2 separate regions of the Homo sapiens genome follow, and region 2 is linked to region 1. Evidence: promoter capture Hi-C in human tissues and cell types (Jung and others, 2019). All regions are on one chromosome and are shown on one strand. The core of a region is centred on a gene start or on the middle of the fragment in contact, and the rest is flanking DNA. Distances in the headings are between cores, read along the strand shown.

Region 1 (3,923 bases), core at 442-2,941:
GTGGGGGGTCCCTAGGGGCTAAGCTGCAGCTGGTGGGGCGGGGCCGGGTGGGGTGGGGCAGGCAGCAGCTGCGGGGAGAAAGAGAGAGAAGATAATAAGGGGAGAGAAAGAGAAAGAGAGCAAAGAGAAAAGAGAGAGAGAGGTGCTCTGGCTCCGGGGCTCTTCTCCCAAACGGGTCGAGGTCCCAGCTGAGGCTCTCCCAGGACAAGGTATGTGGCGGGGGAAATGATAGGGCTGGGCAGTGTCACCCTGCCGAGTGGGGCAGGTCTGGGGGCACTGAGGGGATGGGCAGGAAAATTCTGCTGCTCAACAAGAGCCCCTAAGCTCGCTTCCATCTCACCCCTTCCAAGGTGACCAAGGAGGAACACAGGGCCAGCGAAGGAGTCCTGGGTGGGCATAAGGAGAGGAGGGTTGTCTATCGCTCCTCTTGACCCACTGTGTGAATCTGCACCAAGCTCTTCCCATCGGTAGACCTCACTTCCTTAATGTAAAACCAGGGGGATGGAGAGGAAGACCCTGAAGACGTTTCTGTGGCAGAACTTTGCAAGACGTCTCCTTTCCAAAGAAAATTAGCCCTTCCAGGGCTTCTGGAAAACCTTTAAGACCCAAAGGAATGCCCCGCTAGTAGTGGAATTTCGGATAGTCGTGGGAGGGGGCTCAGGGGTTCTTGCTGAGACAAAAGGCCCTGAGCCCTGGTCCATGCCTCTCTCCTCCACCTTGTTTCTCTGGCTGAGATGAGGGAAGGGGGCTGGAGCCACTCCCCTTCTCAGAGATGCTCTTAGAGATTGCTGCAGACTGTTTTCTGGCTGGGGAGGAGCTGGCCCCGGCCAATTCTAGAGTCTCACGAATCTCCGGATGGGTGAAGTCACTCTGGGTGGGGAGACAGTTCAGTTAAGCACAGCTTTGGGAGTCAGATCAGCCTGTGTTCAAATCCTGGCTCTGCTGCGGGTCCCTGGACAAGTCAAGTAGCCTGTCCAAGCTGCAGGCTCCTCCTGTGCAAAGTGTGCAGAGTATGACTTTACAGGGTTGCCCTGAGAATTAAGCCACATAATGCAAAGAAAGCTCAGCATAGTATCTGGCCCCTGGTAGACGCTCATTACTGCCCTCACTATGGGGATGAAAATGAAGGAAAAGGACTGGCCTGGGGTCACAGAGCTGGACTCTCCAGTGAGACAGAGCAGCCTCTTCCCAACCCCACTGGAAACACGGAGCCCTAGTGTCCACTTAGCACTCTCTGCTCACCCCAGCCTTACTGTGATCTCTCCCCTCTGCTCCCGTCTGCCCCAGCCGCAAGGCCTCGGGTCTACCGTGGAATGAGGGGATCCCTAGGCCCAGGGAAGGGAGGCGCGCTTAGGGGTGGGGGCACAAACGGGCATCTCGGTGGCACTTGTCCTCTCTCTACCCTGGGAAAGGGCAGAAAGCGGCAGCCAAGTCAGGGCTGTGCACGGGAGAGAGAGTGACCGCGGCGGGGGCGCGGAGAACCCCGCTGGGCTCCCGCTCGGTGAGAGGGCGGGAGCCGTGGGTCCGCGAAGCCCCTTCCTCCCCGGCAGAGGACCTAATAGGCAGCGGGGGCGGGAGTGGGGGCGCCCTCCGGTCCTCACCCCGCCCCCGCACCTCTCCCCGCAGCGGGGGCGCCCCGCCCCCCGGGCGCCCGACGTGGACGCGGCCGCCGCCACCGCCGCCGCGCGGGAGTCGCTGTCCGCGGAGCCGACATGCAGGCGGCTCGGGGCGGCGCAGGGCGGCCGGAGCGGCCGGGCCGGCCGGGCCGGGGGCCGGAGCGCGAGCGCGAGCGGCCGCCGGGCGCCGGAGCCGCGTCCCCCTGCGCCGCCCCGGGCCTGCCGGCCGGAGGAGCCACCATACACCCCGGGTCGCCGAGCGCCTGGCCGCCCCGCGCCCGCGCCGCGCTCCGCCTGTGGCTGGGCTGCGTCTGCTTCGCGCTGGTGCAGGCGGGTAAGGGGGCCCGGGGCGGGGGGCCGGCGCCGGGGCAGGCTCCTCTCGAGCCCAGCTACCTGGGAGTCCCCTGGTCCTTTCTCTGCCCCCTAGGGACTCCTGTCTCGGCCCAAACACTGCTCCCCTAACCCAGCCCCCAGCGTCTTCCTACCTCCTTGACCCCCAGACCTGTCCTTCAGTTTCCAAATCTCCCCTGTCACCTCAGCCCTGGGTTTCCTAGGGTCTTGTGGTCCCCAGTCCCCTAATCCCATTCCCCTAACCCCAGGTCTTTGCCTCAGCTTCCCTAGCTCCCTTCTTTGACCCAGGGAGCAGCTGAGGACACCAGTTCCCCCACCTGGGCCTCTCTCTGTGTCCCCAGGACCTCTCAAAGCCCTGCAAGCCAACTCTGCAGGGGCAGATGGGGTCCCGCTGTGCAGGAGCACGTGTGAAGGGGATGGGGGCTGGCACCTGAGGGCGCAGGGCGTGGGGTGGGCCCCGGCACCCCTGATCTGGTACAGTGTCTGGCCTGCCCCATGGGGCCGGCCCGTCCTTGCCCAGCCTCTCCTGCCACTCTGTCTTTGTCCCTCCTGGCTGCCGCTGCCCGGCTCATCTCTCCCTCCGTGGCTCGGGGAGCGCTCTCTCGCAGCTGTCTTTCTCAGATGCCCCACTTCTCTGTCCTCTGGTTCTGTGTCTGCCACCACCTGTCTGTGTCCTGTCTCTCCACCTCCCCCTCCATGTCTGGCTCTGTCTCCCTCAGGTCCCAGGCCCAGCCCCCTGGGTCTCAAGTTCACTCTCTGTGGGGTGAGGGGTGCTGCTCAGGCGCAGCTCTGCCCCGTGCTGCACCTGCCCCTTGGAAGATACTGAGCCTTATGTGACTGCACTGCCCCTCTCCTGGACGGTTTTCCTCACTGACCCCCACTATCCCTATCACTCTCACCCCCACTTCCCTCCTGTCTCTTCTGGAGTGATTCCTCATTCATCCTCTTCCCCTACCTGTTCTCTCCTCTCCACTCGCCATGGAGGGGCCCTGCTCTGAGTGACCCCATCTTCCCCTGCCACCTCCCCACCTGCATCTTGGGGCTGGAAGAGCATGGATAAGAGGCTCACACAGACTCTTCCGCAGGCTTTATTCTGCCTGGGCCACCACAGCTCTGAGGATACTTCTGTTCTCCTCACTCCCAGTCCAGGGCTCACCCCAGCCTGACACTTCTCGATCTCTGGGTCTTTCTCCTTCGCGCAAGGTCACTCATTGGACAGGGCAGTATTGTCAAAAGAGCACTGGACTGGGGAGTCCTTTTGTCTGCTTTTCATCAGCTAACCTTCAGTTTCTGTCCACCTATGTCCCCTACATAACTCTCTCCACAACTCTAACCACCCATCCCTTAGATAGGGCCCCGGCCCAGGCCCATCACTTTGAGCCTTGGACCCCTCATGGGGCCGGCCTGTGGCCAGCAGGGGCTTCCGTCCCAGTCATGAGGAGCCTGGGGCCTCTTGGGCTTGGTTCTTCAACCCACTGAAGAGCTGAGAGCCATGTCACTGGACCCCACTTGAGGCCTTAGTTTCTTCCTTCCCCTCCTGCATGGCCTTCCCCAGGTTTCCCCTTCTTACTTATGAGACAGTGGGTCTGGGCCTCACAATAGGGGATGCTCAGGCTTAGGTGCCTCCCCGTCCCCCAGACAGTCCCTCAGCCCCAGTGAACGTCACCGTCAGGCACCTCAAGGCCAACTCTGCAGTGGTGAGCTGGGATGTTCTGGAGGATGAGGTTGTCATCGGATTTGCCATCTCCCAGCAGGTAATGCTCCACTGTCCTTAGGAGGGAAGGACACATCAAGACAGTAGTGGCAGATGGGGGTAGGAGTGTGGCAGTGGTGGTGATGGAGAAATAGAAAGGAAATAGGAACTTGGGGCAAGGGAGATGAACAGCAATTTGGACATATGTCTGAAAATTGGGGCCCCATTCAGACATATGTCTGAAAATTCTCTAGAAGAGAATC
Region 2 (3,923 bases), core at 543-3,042, 410 kb after region 1:
GGTAAGGAGTTGGTAAGCCAGGTAGATAAATATGTAAGTACGCACAACACTTCTTAACTTGTAGTATGGTCTGATCTATAGGGGCTCTTCCCAGGGCACTTCCGTCTTTCACTGGAAAAGCCTCCTTTCCAGAAATAGCACCTAAAACCAATTTCTTTTGGCTTTCTTACTGAAATTATTTTTTATTCTATTGCAATTATTTTTATTCTACTTCCTGACGTTGCAAAAGTCTATCCGTATAGTATTTTCTTCAAAATTTTCCCCAATCCTGTACTTGGTATATATTGTGTAAATATTTATTTATATCACCCCCATTTGCCTGAAGTGCTCTGCTGCCCCGGGAAGTGCTGAGGATCACCACTTATCCCAGAAGAGCAGCTCTTAGGGCAGACTGCTCTCAGAAGCACATTTATCCGCACTCTGGCAGGGAACCTCCCAACCATCCCACGGTTCCAACTCAATTCAACGGTTACCGGCTACATACAATGCCTGACACAAGGAAGATGCCAGGAATAGAAAAATGAACCAAGTATAGTGCCTGTCCTCCAGGAGACAGCAGATGCCAACACAACTACCTGCAATACAAACTCTCATATACCCTTGAGGGAGTCCTAGCCAGATCACACAACTGTCTCTGTTCAGAGGCCAAAAGCAGCCTTGAATTCCACCTCCGACCCTTTCTGACAAGACTCCTCCAGTCCCACCAACCTGAGAATAACAAAAACCTGCTCCTCAATTTTAGTAAATATTAAGCACTATTCCTTATAAAACACTGTACAAAGTACAAGCATATTCATTTTACTTTTTAAATTAAAATTTTTAAAAGGCACGGTCTTGCTCGGTTGCCCAGGTTGGAGTGCACGATCCTACCTCAATGCAGCCTGGAACTCCTGGGCTCAAGAGATCCTCCCAACCTTAGCTTCCCGAGTAGCAGGGACTACAGGTGCGCGCCACCATGCCTGGCTTTTACAAGCACATTAGTTTTCACCTCACAATAATCCAGTACGACAGATACTCTAACTACATCCTCTTTTTCAGAGGAGGAACTGAGATTCAAAGATGCAGATAACATCACCAAGTTAGTAATAGAACAGAGATCCGACTGACTCCCGGGTTGACATCCTTAACCACTATGCTAACCGGCCTCCTCAAACCCTCCAGGACACGATGCGACAGGTTGGGGAAGTCACTCCTTTCTTTTAGGCATGGATCGGAGGAGAAGGACACTGGAGAAGTTTCCATTTCCATACGAAGAATTTCAGGGTCAACTGCATCTAAACTGCTCGCAAGACAGACCCTCCCCCGTCCAGCATCAGACGACCTGCAGAGAGGCCACCAGAACCAGCTACAGGGCACGGCCCCCGAGGGTGGGACCCCAAGGCCTAGCCCCTCCCATGGCCTCCCGCGGACAAAGTGGCCATCGCTGCCGCTGGCACTTCTCCAGTGTGGCCGAGCCCCCCACGCCTGGGCACCATTCACCGTGGAAGTAGTCGGCGCCGCGACCCCCGGCTGGACGACGCGGAGGACACCCAATGACAGGGAAGCTGGGGCCCCACGGCCGCGCCTGCCCCTCCCCACGCTAGAAGGGCTCGCGGGGCGGAGGTCCCAGGAGTTGCCAGGGCCAAGCGGTCCGAAGGAGGATGACTGAGTGGGGGCAACCCTGCCCGCTAACCCCAATCTCCAGCCAGCCTCCCGGGTGCTAGGAATCCTCCCCAAACCAACGAAAGCGGCAGCGCCAACCCGCTTCTTCGCGCTCACCTTCCAGCGGGTTCCAGCAGCGCAGCCACGGAGCACCGCGCACCGACACGCCCCCCTTTCATTCACCTGGCGCCCTCCGATGAGAGGCGGGGCGGCTGGCCAATCGCGGGAGCGCCTGGCCTCGGGAAGGCGGGCCCTTCGGCCAGCAGGGTGGTCAATGGCGCTGGTGCCCCTCGGAGGATGCGCTCTGAAGGCGCTGGTGCTCGCAGGGTGATGGGAGTTGTGGTCTCAGCGCTGGCTTTTCGGGTAAAGATAGAGTGGACAAAACTACAAGTACCAAGATGCCAAAAGGGGCGAGGACCAGTGCTAGCGAAAGGCTGCAGCTCGGTTCGGTCTTTTGAGTCCCACTTGAGGGACCTGCCAAGTACCGGTCTCTTTGTCTGGAGAGCGAAAAGCACGTCGTGGGTATTAATGCAGTCCAGGGAATAAGAGCTTTGACTCATCAGTCCGCACATATTTCACCTACTGGCGCTTTCCGCAAAAATCTGGAAATAAGGGAAATGGTTTAATCGATTCAACAGGTTTTTATTGCATACCCGCGGTTTCTTTCACTGGGTAGTCGTTACAAAAGATAAAAGATTCAGCTCTTCCCTTGACAGGCTCTCCGGTTCATACATACTAGTGAAACGGTTAAATGGCAGTACTAGGTGCTAAGTGACCGTACAGGCGTGTTCTTGTCAGCTGTGAGCAAGACAAGGCAGCTTACCGCTCTCAGGGAGCTTAGTTCTCATGGGGGTGTATTCGTTTGCTAGGGCTGCTGTACCTAAGTATCACCAACCCGGTGGCGTCAATAACAGATCTTATTGTCTGACAATCCTGGGGGCATCTGAAAGCAAGATGTTGGCAGGGTTCTTTCCTTCTGAGCGCTGTGAGGAAACGGTCTCTTCCAGGCTTCTCTCCTGGGCTTGCATATGGCCATCTTCATGTTCACAGGGCATATTCCCTGTATATGTCTCCATGTCAAAATGTCTCCTTTTGGTTGCAGTGAGTCGAGATCGCGCCACTGCACTCCAGCCTGGGGCGACAGAGAGAGACTCCGTCTCCAAAAAAAAAGTATTTTTATAAGGATACCAGTCATATTGGATTAGGGGTTCACTCTATGCCAGTATGACTTTTTTTTTTTTTTTTTTTTTTTTTTTGAGACGGAGTCTCAGACTCTGTTGCCCAGGCTGGAGTGGTGGCGGGTGGATCACCTGAGGTCAGGAGTCCGAGACCAGCCTGGCCAACATGGTGAAACCCCATCTCTACTAAAAATACAAAAATTAGCCGGGCGTGGGCCAGTAATCCCAGCTACTTGGGAGGCTGAGGCAGGAGAATGCTTGAACCAAAGAGATTGCAGTGAGTGGAGATCTGGCCACTGCACTCCAGCCTGGGCAGCAGAGCAAGACTCTGTCTCAAAAAAAAAAAAAAAAAAAAAAAAGGCTACCCCCTTCGCTGAGAGACCCTAATGAGGAGTAGTGAGCCATGCTAAGATAAAACAGAAAACCGGTTGGTACATATCTAAGAAACAGGAGAATGCCATTGGGTTGAGGAAGTGGATGGCAGGTAGACCAGCTTAATGGACGTGCAACCCACGCAGTGGCACAGGCCCGCACACTCAGAAAGGGCTGGTGCTTCCAGGTGAGGTTTTATACTTAACAAAACAAAACAAAAAAAGAGCCAGGTGCGGTGGCTTACACCTGTAATCCCAGCACTTTGGGAGGCTGAGGCGGGCGGATCACTTGAGACCAGCCTGGCCAACATGGCAAAACCCAGTGTCTACTAAAAATACAAAAATTAGCTGGGCATGGTGACACATACCTGTAATCCCAGCTACTCGGGAGGCTGAGGCATGAGAATCACTTGAACATGGAAAGTGGAGGTTGCAGTGAGCTGAGATTGTGCCACTGCACTGTTTCAAGGAGGAGGAGGACGAGGAGGAGGAGAGAGGGAAGAGGGAAGAAGAAGAAGAGGAAGAGGAAGGAGAGGAAGGAGAAGGAGGAGGAGGAGAAGAAGAAGAAGAAGAAAGATTTAATTACTAACAAAAAGAAAATCTAAATAAATATTTTAAAAATTAAAAAAAAGGAAAGGGCTGATGCCTGGTTTAATGCTCTGCCATTGCCCTCTTAAAATTCTTAGTAGTTTTTGAACAAGGAGCTCTGCATTTTCATTTTGCATTGGGCCCC

What was found. Contacts are between HindIII fragments. The study calls those that stand out against the background at their distance.
Region 2: a contact is called between the fragment with the promoter of ZBTB8B here and the fragment with the promoter of FNDC5 in region 1, in 4 of the 25 tissues and cell types used here (hippocampus, liver, lymphoblastoid cells and 1 more).

The regions. Positions count from the first base shown.
Region 1 is chr1:32,868,680-32,872,602 of GRCh38, reverse strand. FNDC5 (fibronectin type III domain containing 5) reads left to right here and starts at 1,691. Exons shown (of 6, transcript NM_001441683.1): 1 at 1,691-1,950; 2 at 3,606-3,721. The coding sequence starts at 1,713. The HindIII fragment of the contact is 14,778 bases long and covers 1-3,923 here.
Region 2 is chr1:32,462,941-32,466,863 of GRCh38, reverse strand. ZBTB8B (zinc finger and BTB domain containing 8B) reads right to left here and starts at 1,792. Exons shown (of 4, transcript NM_001145720.2): 1 at 1,759-1,792. The HindIII fragment of the contact is 24,686 bases long and covers 1-3,923 here.